Regions from separate parts of the Homo sapiens genome. Here region 1 is linked to region 2. Evidence: promoter capture Hi-C in human tissues and cell types (Jung and others, 2019). All regions are on one chromosome and are shown on one strand. Each heading gives the region's core, a stretch centred on a gene start or on the middle of the fragment in contact. The rest is flanking DNA. Distances are from core to core; before and after follow the strand shown.

Region 1 (4,631 bases), core at 376-2,875, 860 kb before region 2:
TTTCACTCATCTGACTACACCAATAAATATTTATCTTTTCTAAATCTGTACAAATAATTCATTAGACAGCACACAGCGATATTGACCTCAATCCTGTCCTTGATTTAAAGATTAAAAGGGAGTGGTCAACTTCTGTATCTAGCAATTCTGAAGACAGATAATCTGAAAGCGTCCCTGCAACAAAATACCTAGAAATGCATATAATGAATATGCTTAGGGAATAAATACTTTTTTTTTTTTTTTTTTTTTTTTTTTGAGACGGAGTCTCGCTCTGTCGCCCAGGCTGGAGTGCAGTGGCACGATCTCGGCTCACTGCAAGCTCCGCCTCCCGGGTTCACGCCATTCTCCTGCCTCAGCCTCGCGAGTAGCTGAGACTACAGGCGCCGGCCACCGCGCCCGGCTAATTTTTTTTTTTTTTTGTATTTTTAGTAGAGACGGGGTTTCACCGTGTTTGCCAGGATGGTCTCGATCTCCTGACCTCGTGATCCGCCTGCCTCGGCCTCCCAAAGTGCTGGGATTACAGGCGTGAGCCACCGCGCCTGGCATAAATACGTATTTTTAAATACACAGCTGAGTTTATTCTGGGATGGGAAGAAGGGACTGGAAAAATTCAAACAGTAAGAGTGATGTGACTGGGTATGCATTGGAGACAGGAAGAGGAGGAATGAGTCAAGTGCTGTAGAACTGAGATTTCTACATAAAGTCTGGGCCTTTAAAGGGACACAGGCATAGGACAATGAAGTTCTCTGCACTGGCTGCAGGTGGTGTAAGGTATACCGAGGAAAATAACCAGCTCTACAGATTAAGTTAATGGGCTCTGTGGACCTTTCCCATCCCTCTGCCTGGGGTTCACCGTTCTCACTAGTCCTAAACCTTGGGCAGGTTACATAACCTTATGGTACCCCGTTTGCCTTGGTTGTGGTATTGTGAAGAGCCGATAAACCTCGTGCATATTAAGTGCTAAGTGTACAAAAGCATGGAAGGGGCAAATCAAAAGTGGAAATATGTTTTTCTCCCAGAGATCAAGATTTTTCCTTAAGAAAGTCAAGATATGGTTATGCATTATCTGCCTATTTAATGAAAAATAAACATCTTTAGTTATAAAGGACCAGGATTTCATAGCCTTATCAAATGCTAATGAAATGAGAAAAAAAAGTTTAAAATTAGCAAAACGCTTAAAATTTCCTCCATAGTTATATCACTAAAATAATGGGGGGAAATGTTCTTTTGATAACTATCAAGTTTTATATCCTTTCCTTAATGCCACTGGCAGAGTTCAAAAACGGTTTTTATTTGGGGAAAGCAAGAAACCAAATAGGATTATAAAATACCACAGGTACAGCCGGGCGCGGTGGCTCACGCCTGTAATCCCAGCACTGTGGGAGGCTGAGGCAGGTGGATCACCTGAGGTCAGGAGTTCGAGACCAGCCTGGCCAACGTGGTGAAACCCTGTCTCTACTAAAAATACAAAAGTCAGCCAGGCATGGATGTGCATGCCCGTAGTGCCAGCTACTGGGGAGGCTGAGGCAGAATTACTCGAACCTGGGAGGCGGAGGTTGCAGTGAGCCGAGATCTTGCCACTGCACTCTAGCCTGGTGGACAGAGCGAGACTCTGTCTCAAACAAACAAACAAAACAAAACAAAACACAGGTACAGGATATACTCCATAGAGAGGAAATGCTCTCGCTTAGGATGAGACAAAATAACAAACTGAATGACCTTGAACAGAACTTGGTTATCTTTGGGTCTTGGTTTTCTTTGAGTATGAGGATTTGAAATCAATTACTTCTGGGGTCTCTTCCAGCACTTCCTGATTTTATGACAGTTATTCCAATTGCAAAAGAAACTAACTACCCATTTGGCCCTCCCATTCCACAAAAACAAAACACACAGTATCATTTCAAGAGTCAGAGTCAGATTCTTGTTTTGAATTTAAAGTGCTACATGACTGCTAAGGTTAAAACTCCTTTCTTTCAAAAATCAAAAAGGTTGAATCATCAGAGGATAAAACCCATCACCACTGCAAACCAAAGTGGATTTTCAACCTAGTAGAAAATGTGAATTGACAAAGCATGCAAAAATTAGCTCAAGTAGCTGCAACCTTCTTCTATAAGTATCCTGGTAAATGCTTAGGAGTTTAAGTGTGTATTGTTTATGCTGCAAGAAGCATATGAGGTTGAAAGCATGGATGTGTTATGCCCAGAAACTGGAATCTTAATTCAATAGGGAAAGAGTCTTCTTCAAGTAAAAATAACACAACTAAAAAATTACAAAGTCTTAATACGAACTGTTTAATTGTTATAACAAGATTTGAGAGGCAGGGGTAGGTAAGTAAGTCACCAACTGGCGATAAGTCACCAACTGTTAATATGTGTCTGCAAGTTTCTTGTTTTTCACAATCACTAGATTTACATACAATTATAGGTTATGGTTCTCCATGTACACATACAGTGAAAGACATTTTCCAAATACCTTTTGATGTAGAATGGAACCTGAGACAAAAAAATCACTTAAGAAATCAAATCTCATATAATGGAAATACTTTAACCACAGCATTCACACATTTGACTGTGGATTCCAAATGCTTATCTAAACAGAGGCAACGCAATTAAACTGCCTTCACTCAAAATGGTGTCAGAAGGCAACTACCCTATTTACTAGCCACTGATAAGTTATGACAACACTATTTCATAGCCTGTCACTATATTTCTTTTAACCCCCCAGCAGTAGGATTTAGGATTTCCTCAACACTAAGGGCTTATCTCAAATGCTTTAGTGCACGAACAGTAAAAAATCAGAGTTGCAATGCCACATTGAGAAACTAGATAATGACTTGGAAATAAAAGTGGGGGAAGTGATGAACTGCCACTACCTGTTTTTCTAAGTTTTCTATTTTCTAATACAGAGCAAAACTTTAAATGCTAACGACAAAAATAAATCTAACAGGCCTAGAAATTCTGAAGGTAACCCAGTGACAATAGAAAACTTTTAGATCACTATTAAGAGGTCTTTATATTGTTCATAAACAATAGGAAAATAAGACTGATACTGTTTATAATTACTAACTAGATAAAATTTGGCAAAAGACATCTAATATACTTTTTACAATGAAAATGATTTCTAAAAATGATTCCCTTGATCTCATACCTATAGAAAAACTATCAGTGATTACTTTTTAGTATGAAAATAATAAGCTAGTTACACAATTTAAATATTATTTTCTGACTTTTCTCTCTTCCTTATGAGACTGGGGAAAAAAGATGTTAGAGGAGAAAAATAACTGTTACATGCCAAATAGTTCAAAATCTTCCCCTGGAAACTGAAACAGGATCCTTAGAAAGTACATAATGTCCTGGAGTTTCCCTTGTAGACAAATACTTTGGTCATTTATTTGTAATCAGATACTGATTTTAGCAGATTACAGCACTTATAAACATTGTCACAGACCGCACAATGTCCATTCATAAATAAAGGAGGTTTATTCATGAAAAGGTTGTGATTCTTCTGAAAGCATCCAATACAACCTTTCTGGACATTTCCCTTTCAGTATTACCTGGCATGTAATCAGGAAAGGGAAACATTCAGGTAAGTTACAACCTCCAGTCATATTCACAGCAATATGCAATATGGACATTTACAGGGGGAATCCCTTTGCAGGTGACTTCAACTAGAAATCCCAAGAGTCACAGTAAATGTTTCAAAGTCCATATAAAGAAAGAAGCTTGGCCGGGCGCGGTGGCTCACGCCTGTAATCCCAGCACTTTGGGAGGCCGAGGTGGGTGGATCACTTGAGGTCAGGAGTTCAAGACAAGCCTGGCCAACATGGCGAAACCCCATCTCCACTAAAAATACAAAAATTAGCCGGATGTGATGGTGGGCGCCTGTAATCCCAGCTACTCGGGAGGCTGAGACAGGAGAAACACTTGTACCTGGGAGGCAGAGGTTGCAGTGAGCCAGATCGTGCCACTGCACTCCAGCCTGAGCAACAGAGCGAGATTCTGCCTCAAATAAATAAATAAATAAAAGTATTTGCTGAAAGAATGATATTGTATACCACAACCAGGTGCAAGGGACATAATGATATGGCTCCAACCCTTAAGAAACTCAAAGCCTAGCAGAGGAAAACAGCTTTAAATACCTGAACAGGTTCCAAGGACAGAGATAGAAAAAACAGTCTATCTTAATGATGGCTCCAAGTTATGGATAAAAGCAGTGTAGTGTAAATAAGCAGAAGAGAATGGGTGGTTCACCTTGCAAATACTTCTAATCCCCAAACCAAGCAAGTGACTTCTAGACTATGTTCACTTCAGACTAGTCATATCATTGCTCTACTTTAAAAACAATACGAAGAAATGATTGTACTCAAAACCTGTATTATATTAAGCAGCAAGCCACCAGTAAAAAGATCTTCCGGTCAGACCCTTGTAGCACTACTTAAGGAAAAGGAAGACCAGGAGTGCAGGAAAGTCCTCTTCCATGTCTGTTTTCTTGTCAACATTAAACCAGAATGAAAAATAATTAGACCCACCTTGTCCACGCAGGTGTGTAACTTCCTAAACTTAGGATGAAAATCACAATCTTAGAACCATGCACCTATCAAGGACATCAACCAAGCTTTACATATCCAAGCT
Region 2 (4,764 bases), core at 2,209-4,708:
AGTTACAAGATCCCTGGTTTAACTGCTTCATACCACTGGATACTAGAAGAGGTGAAACAGCCGGTAATCTCTAAGATGGTAGGCCTGAATAGATGGGTCAGTTTCTTCATCTGCAAGTGTGGAGAGGAGGAGTGGGAGAACACTAGAGGAAGTCAGCCCAAATATTCCACATGCTTAAAGAAGACAGGCCAGGTGCGGTGGCTCACACCTGTAATCCCAGCACTTTGGGAGGCCAAGGGTTGGGGGGGGGTGTGAAGGGTGTGGATCACCTGAGGTCAGGAGTTCGAGACCAGCGTGGCCAACATGGTGAAACCCCGTTTCTACTAAAAATACAAAGCCGGGGATGGTGGCGGGTGCCTGTAATCCCAGTTAGTTACTCGGGGCAGGATAATCACTTGAACCCGGGAGGCAGAGGTTGCAGTGAGCCGAGATCACGCCATTGCACTCCAGCCTGGGCTACAAGAGTGAGACTGTCTCAAACAAACAAAAAAAAAACAGAGGAAAACAAAGGTTGCTGCCTGTTAACTTTACAGTTAATACATGAGCCAGGTAAATCAAGGAAAAATAAAAGCATCTCTAACCCTACCACCCAGAGATAATCACTATTATAACTTCCCTGTCTACTGTTCCAAAGATAGGTTCTTGCATAAATAGGCTTACAGACACATGCAAAAATTTCCCTCAAGAAAATGGAATTTTAAGTACATACTGTTTTATGACCCATGCTTTTTCATAAGTATACTGTGAACATCGATTTATGTCTGCATAATATTCTTCAGGATAGATATATTTTTTAAAAATCTATGATGGGACATCTAGGTTGTTTGCATTTTTTCACTTTCGTAAATAACCTTATAATGAACATGCTTAAGTAAATATTTATTTCTCCTGCCCTTGCCTCCTTAAAAAGCACTGATAGCCGATCCCTGAGCCTTCTTCCCTTTTTCTCTTTATTCTGCAGTATTTTCCTAAGGATGGGGGAGGCAAAAAACGGAGTAGGTAGAGCTAAAATCTTTATGGGGCAGTGGGAAAAAGAAAAGGCTGGAAACACGATGTGTTAATATTTCTTGTCTTACGGCTACTTTGGATCATTTCCAAGAACAATTCCTGCCCCTTACTGCCTACCAACACACATGAGGGTCTATAGCAAGCTTGTCTAACTCGCAGCCTGTGGCCCAGGAGGGCTTTGAATGCAGCCCAACACAAATTCATAAACTTTCTTAAAACATTGTGAGATTTTTTTTGTGATTTTTTTTTTTTAGCTCATCAGCTGTCATTACTGTTAATGTATTTAATGTGTAGCCCAAGACGATTCTAATGTGGGAAGACAAAAGATTGGACACCCCTGGTCTATAGCAGCATAAAACTCTGCTGTTTCCTGCCCACATCTGGAACTCCACACTTAGGCTGTTTCCTTTGCTGTAAGGCTTAGAAAATTTATATTCTGTGAAGACTTAATGTGCAGGTGGTTATACTCTGTCCTTTGCAGTACGGTGTTTATGCCTCTGGGAACAGTGATTTTCACGTGCTGTATGGGTGTTTGTATTCAGGTAAGTTCCAGGAAAATGGACATTCAATTTCCGTAAGAAGGTTAATGTGCATAGATACTAGACCCCCACCAGGTGATCCATTATAACTGCCCCAAAACACTAACACCTGAAAATGCATTTTGTGAAAAACAAAGGCAAATGCATTTTTACCTTAGAAATGTTGATTCTGGAAGAGTTGGGGGCACTTGGTAAGTTGTTTGTGGCAAAGGCAAGGGCTGCAAAGCCCGTGACAGGAAGCAGGGTAGGTATAAAGTCAAGGATTAAGAACAGTACTTGGCACAAAATAGTTACTTGATGCTGAATGAATTAGTCTCCCTCCGTCATCTACTTCCCAGGGGCTAGATCCAGACAGAGGTCAAGAAGATGGGGCCTGTTGAAAGTTAAAGGACCTGCCGTCTGTTTCTTCTTTGAACAAGTGAAAGGTAGTAAAAAGTAGATGGCTTTCTACCATAGGTTTTAAGTTTAAGAACCCTAGGATGGTACTGTCACATTCTCTTAGGGAGGTCATAGCTGTGGGAACTGTCAACAGGTTGACTCATTTAAATGTGTCCTACATAAAGCAACATCAGATGAGTTCTGATTTACAAGTCTGCCAGGCTGGCCTGTGAGCCTCTGGGCAGAGTTCCCGTCCCATGCATTGCTGTAGCCTCAGTTCCTCCACATAGTAAATGCCCAAGTACCTATAGAAGAAATCGTGTGTGAGCCCACACTCTTTTTTTATATTTTAGAGACGGAGTCTGGCTCTGTTGCCCAGGCTGGAGTGCAGTGGCACAATCTCGGCTCACTGCAAGCTCCGCCTCACTGCAAGCCCCGCCTCACTGCAAGCTCCGCCTCACTGCAAGCTCCGCCTCCCGGGTTCACGCCATTCTCCTGCCTCAGCCTCCCCAGTAGATGGGACTACAGGTGCCCGCCACCATGCCTGGCTACTTTTTTGTATTTTTTAGTAGAGACGGGGTTTCACCATGTTAGCCAGGATGGGCTCTATCTCCTGTCCTTGTGATCCGTCCGCCACGGCCTCCCAAAGTGCTGGGATTACAGGCGTGAGCCACCGCGCCCGGCCCTGAGCCCACACTCTTTATTCGTTATGACGGTGCTGCAACTACCAATAAGTTGTGAGGGTTAAATGGGATGAGATGTCACAGTATTATTTGCCTGTTAGGGAGGTTTTAGGGCACGCGCCTCTTCTCTCCAAATTGGAATCACCCAAAGAGTTTTAGTAAATACTGGGCCCATCCAGGGTTAATTTTCTTCTAATTGGTTTGGGGTGCTGCTTGGACAGGGGGACTTTTAAAATTCTATACTGACCCACCAGGACTGACATGAGAACTACTCGCTTAGTAACTGTTAGAGGAGGCGCCAGCTGATCAGGACCTAAAGTTCATATTCTTTTTCATCTCCCCGTTGTCGCTGAAGCCTACCCCATAAACCCCTACCGTCCCTTTGCCCACAGCAGAGAATTTCCGGGAAAACGGGAAAGGTATGCAAGCATGCCCACACACGTGCACACACGGGTTCCCAAAAGACCTGCGTGTGGCCGCAGGGGCCTGCCCCGCCCTTCTCGGGCCCTTTCAGGTCCCGGCGCCCAGCGATCCCACCAGCACCTGGGTCCGGCGCGCGGCTCCCTCCCTCTCCGCGCCCCTCGGGGCTCCCTGCCCCGCCCGCGTGCCCCACCCTTCCTAGCTCTGCCCCATCGCTGCTCCCTGCCCCGCCCACGGGCCCCATCCTACCCCCACCTCGATCCGCCCCTCGCTCCTCCCTGCCCCGCCCACCGCGCCCCGTCCCTGTCCGCCCCTTCTGGCTCTCAGCACCCCCAAGACCGGTGCGCGCCCCGCCCCTCCTCCTCCTCTCGCGAGGCAGTCCCGACGCCGGAAGTGCCTGGAGCGCGCGACAGCGGCGGGGCGGGGCGGCCTGGAGGCTGTGGCGCGCGGCCGGCAGAGGGAGGGGAGAGGCCACTGGGGCCGTGTTAGTCTGCCGGTGGGGACTCTTGCAGGTACAGGCGCGGTCGGGGCTCCTCGTGGAGAGCCGGGGGCTCCTGCCGGCCTCTGACTGGGGTGTCGTTGCAGGGCCGTCCCCATGTTGCGTTTTCCGACCTGTTTCCCATCCTTCCGGGTGGTGGGAGAGAAGCAGCTCCCGCAGGAGATTATTTTCCTGGTCTGGTCGCCCAAGCGGGATCTCATTGCTTTGGCCAACACAGCTGGCGAGGTGAGTGAGCCGGCGGGAGCCCGCCTGTGCTGGGTCTGCTCCCGGGGGGCCCAAGAACACCGAGCCCGAGCCTGTTCATTCGGGCCACAGGCGGCCGGAGCCTCAGTTTCCCCTTCTGCAGACATGGCTGGCCACCTGCTACCCCTTCCCTGCCTCCCAGGACGGCAGTAAACTTTAAGTATATATGCGAAAGGTGATGTCTGTGCTATTTTCGGTACTTTTATGGCTAAAGTAACAGTTTTCACACAGCTTAACACCGTCACGCAATCCTGCTTCCCCAAGTCTTCTTCACTCATTGGTTTATTAGTTAAATGAACTTTTTAAAAAAGCCCACTATGTGCTGCTCATGAGCTAGACATAATGGTAGATGCAGGGACCCTGCCCTAAGTTTGCTTACAGTTTTAATAGCAGTAGGAAGAGTTATTGTCAAACTTCAGCTGCAAATGTGCCTGCATGTAGCTGCCACACAGGATATATTTAAGAACCTGGCTTCTCTTGTCCACGTTTTATAGTACGGGTTGGATAACCACCCTCCACTAAAAATACCTCTAAATTGGACAAGGAAGGCATGCATTGGATTCCAGACAGAACGTGCATGGGTGTTATCAGCATTTCTTGTTCACATAAAACTTCATCGAGTATAAACCAGTTGTACCCAACTTTCTGCTGAGAGTTATTACCTGCCAGCCATTTTGTAAGGAAACCTTCACCTGTGCATCTTTCCGCCTCTGGCTTGAGAGTTATCTGGCCATGTGAGAGTTGTATAGAGCCAAATTTGGAAACTAGGTGATAAGGAAATCTTAGCACCCTGCAGACTGTAGTCTGCACCATGTTATCTACCATGATCCAGTCGCCAGGGTATTGATGTCTAATTTTTCAGGGCCCTCCATGAAATCTAGCTAGTCTCCCTCCGCTGCCGGGATGCTTTGAAACTCTGTTGTGGCTCTAGAGAGCAGCAGGTGGTACCGTCACAGAAGTAGGAGGGAAGGTAGACGGGAGGCACATCCGTGCA

What was found. The method cuts DNA at HindIII sites, captures the fragments that hold promoters and counts their contacts. A contact is called where the count stands out against the background at its distance.
Region 1: a fragment that was not itself captured here is called in contact with the fragment with the promoter of ANAPC4 in region 2 in 1 of the 25 tissues and cell types used here (lymphoblastoid cells).

Annotation. Positions count from the first base shown.
Region 1 is chr4:24,515,161-24,519,791 of GRCh38, forward strand. No RefSeq gene overlaps it. Among named protein-coding and RNA genes, the nearest start is that of MIR573, 2.8 kb to the right of the region's middle. The HindIII fragment of the contact is 5,083 bases long and covers 1-4,167 here.
Region 2 is chr4:25,373,805-25,378,568 of GRCh38, forward strand. ANAPC4 (anaphase promoting complex subunit 4) reads left to right here and starts at 3,459. Exons shown (of 29, transcript NM_013367.3): 1 at 3,459-3,540; 2 at 3,614-3,752. The coding sequence starts at 3,624. RefSeq lists a silencer at 3,162-3,581 and enhancers at 3,702-3,761, 3,792-3,861. The HindIII fragment of the contact is 8,136 bases long and covers 1-4,764 here.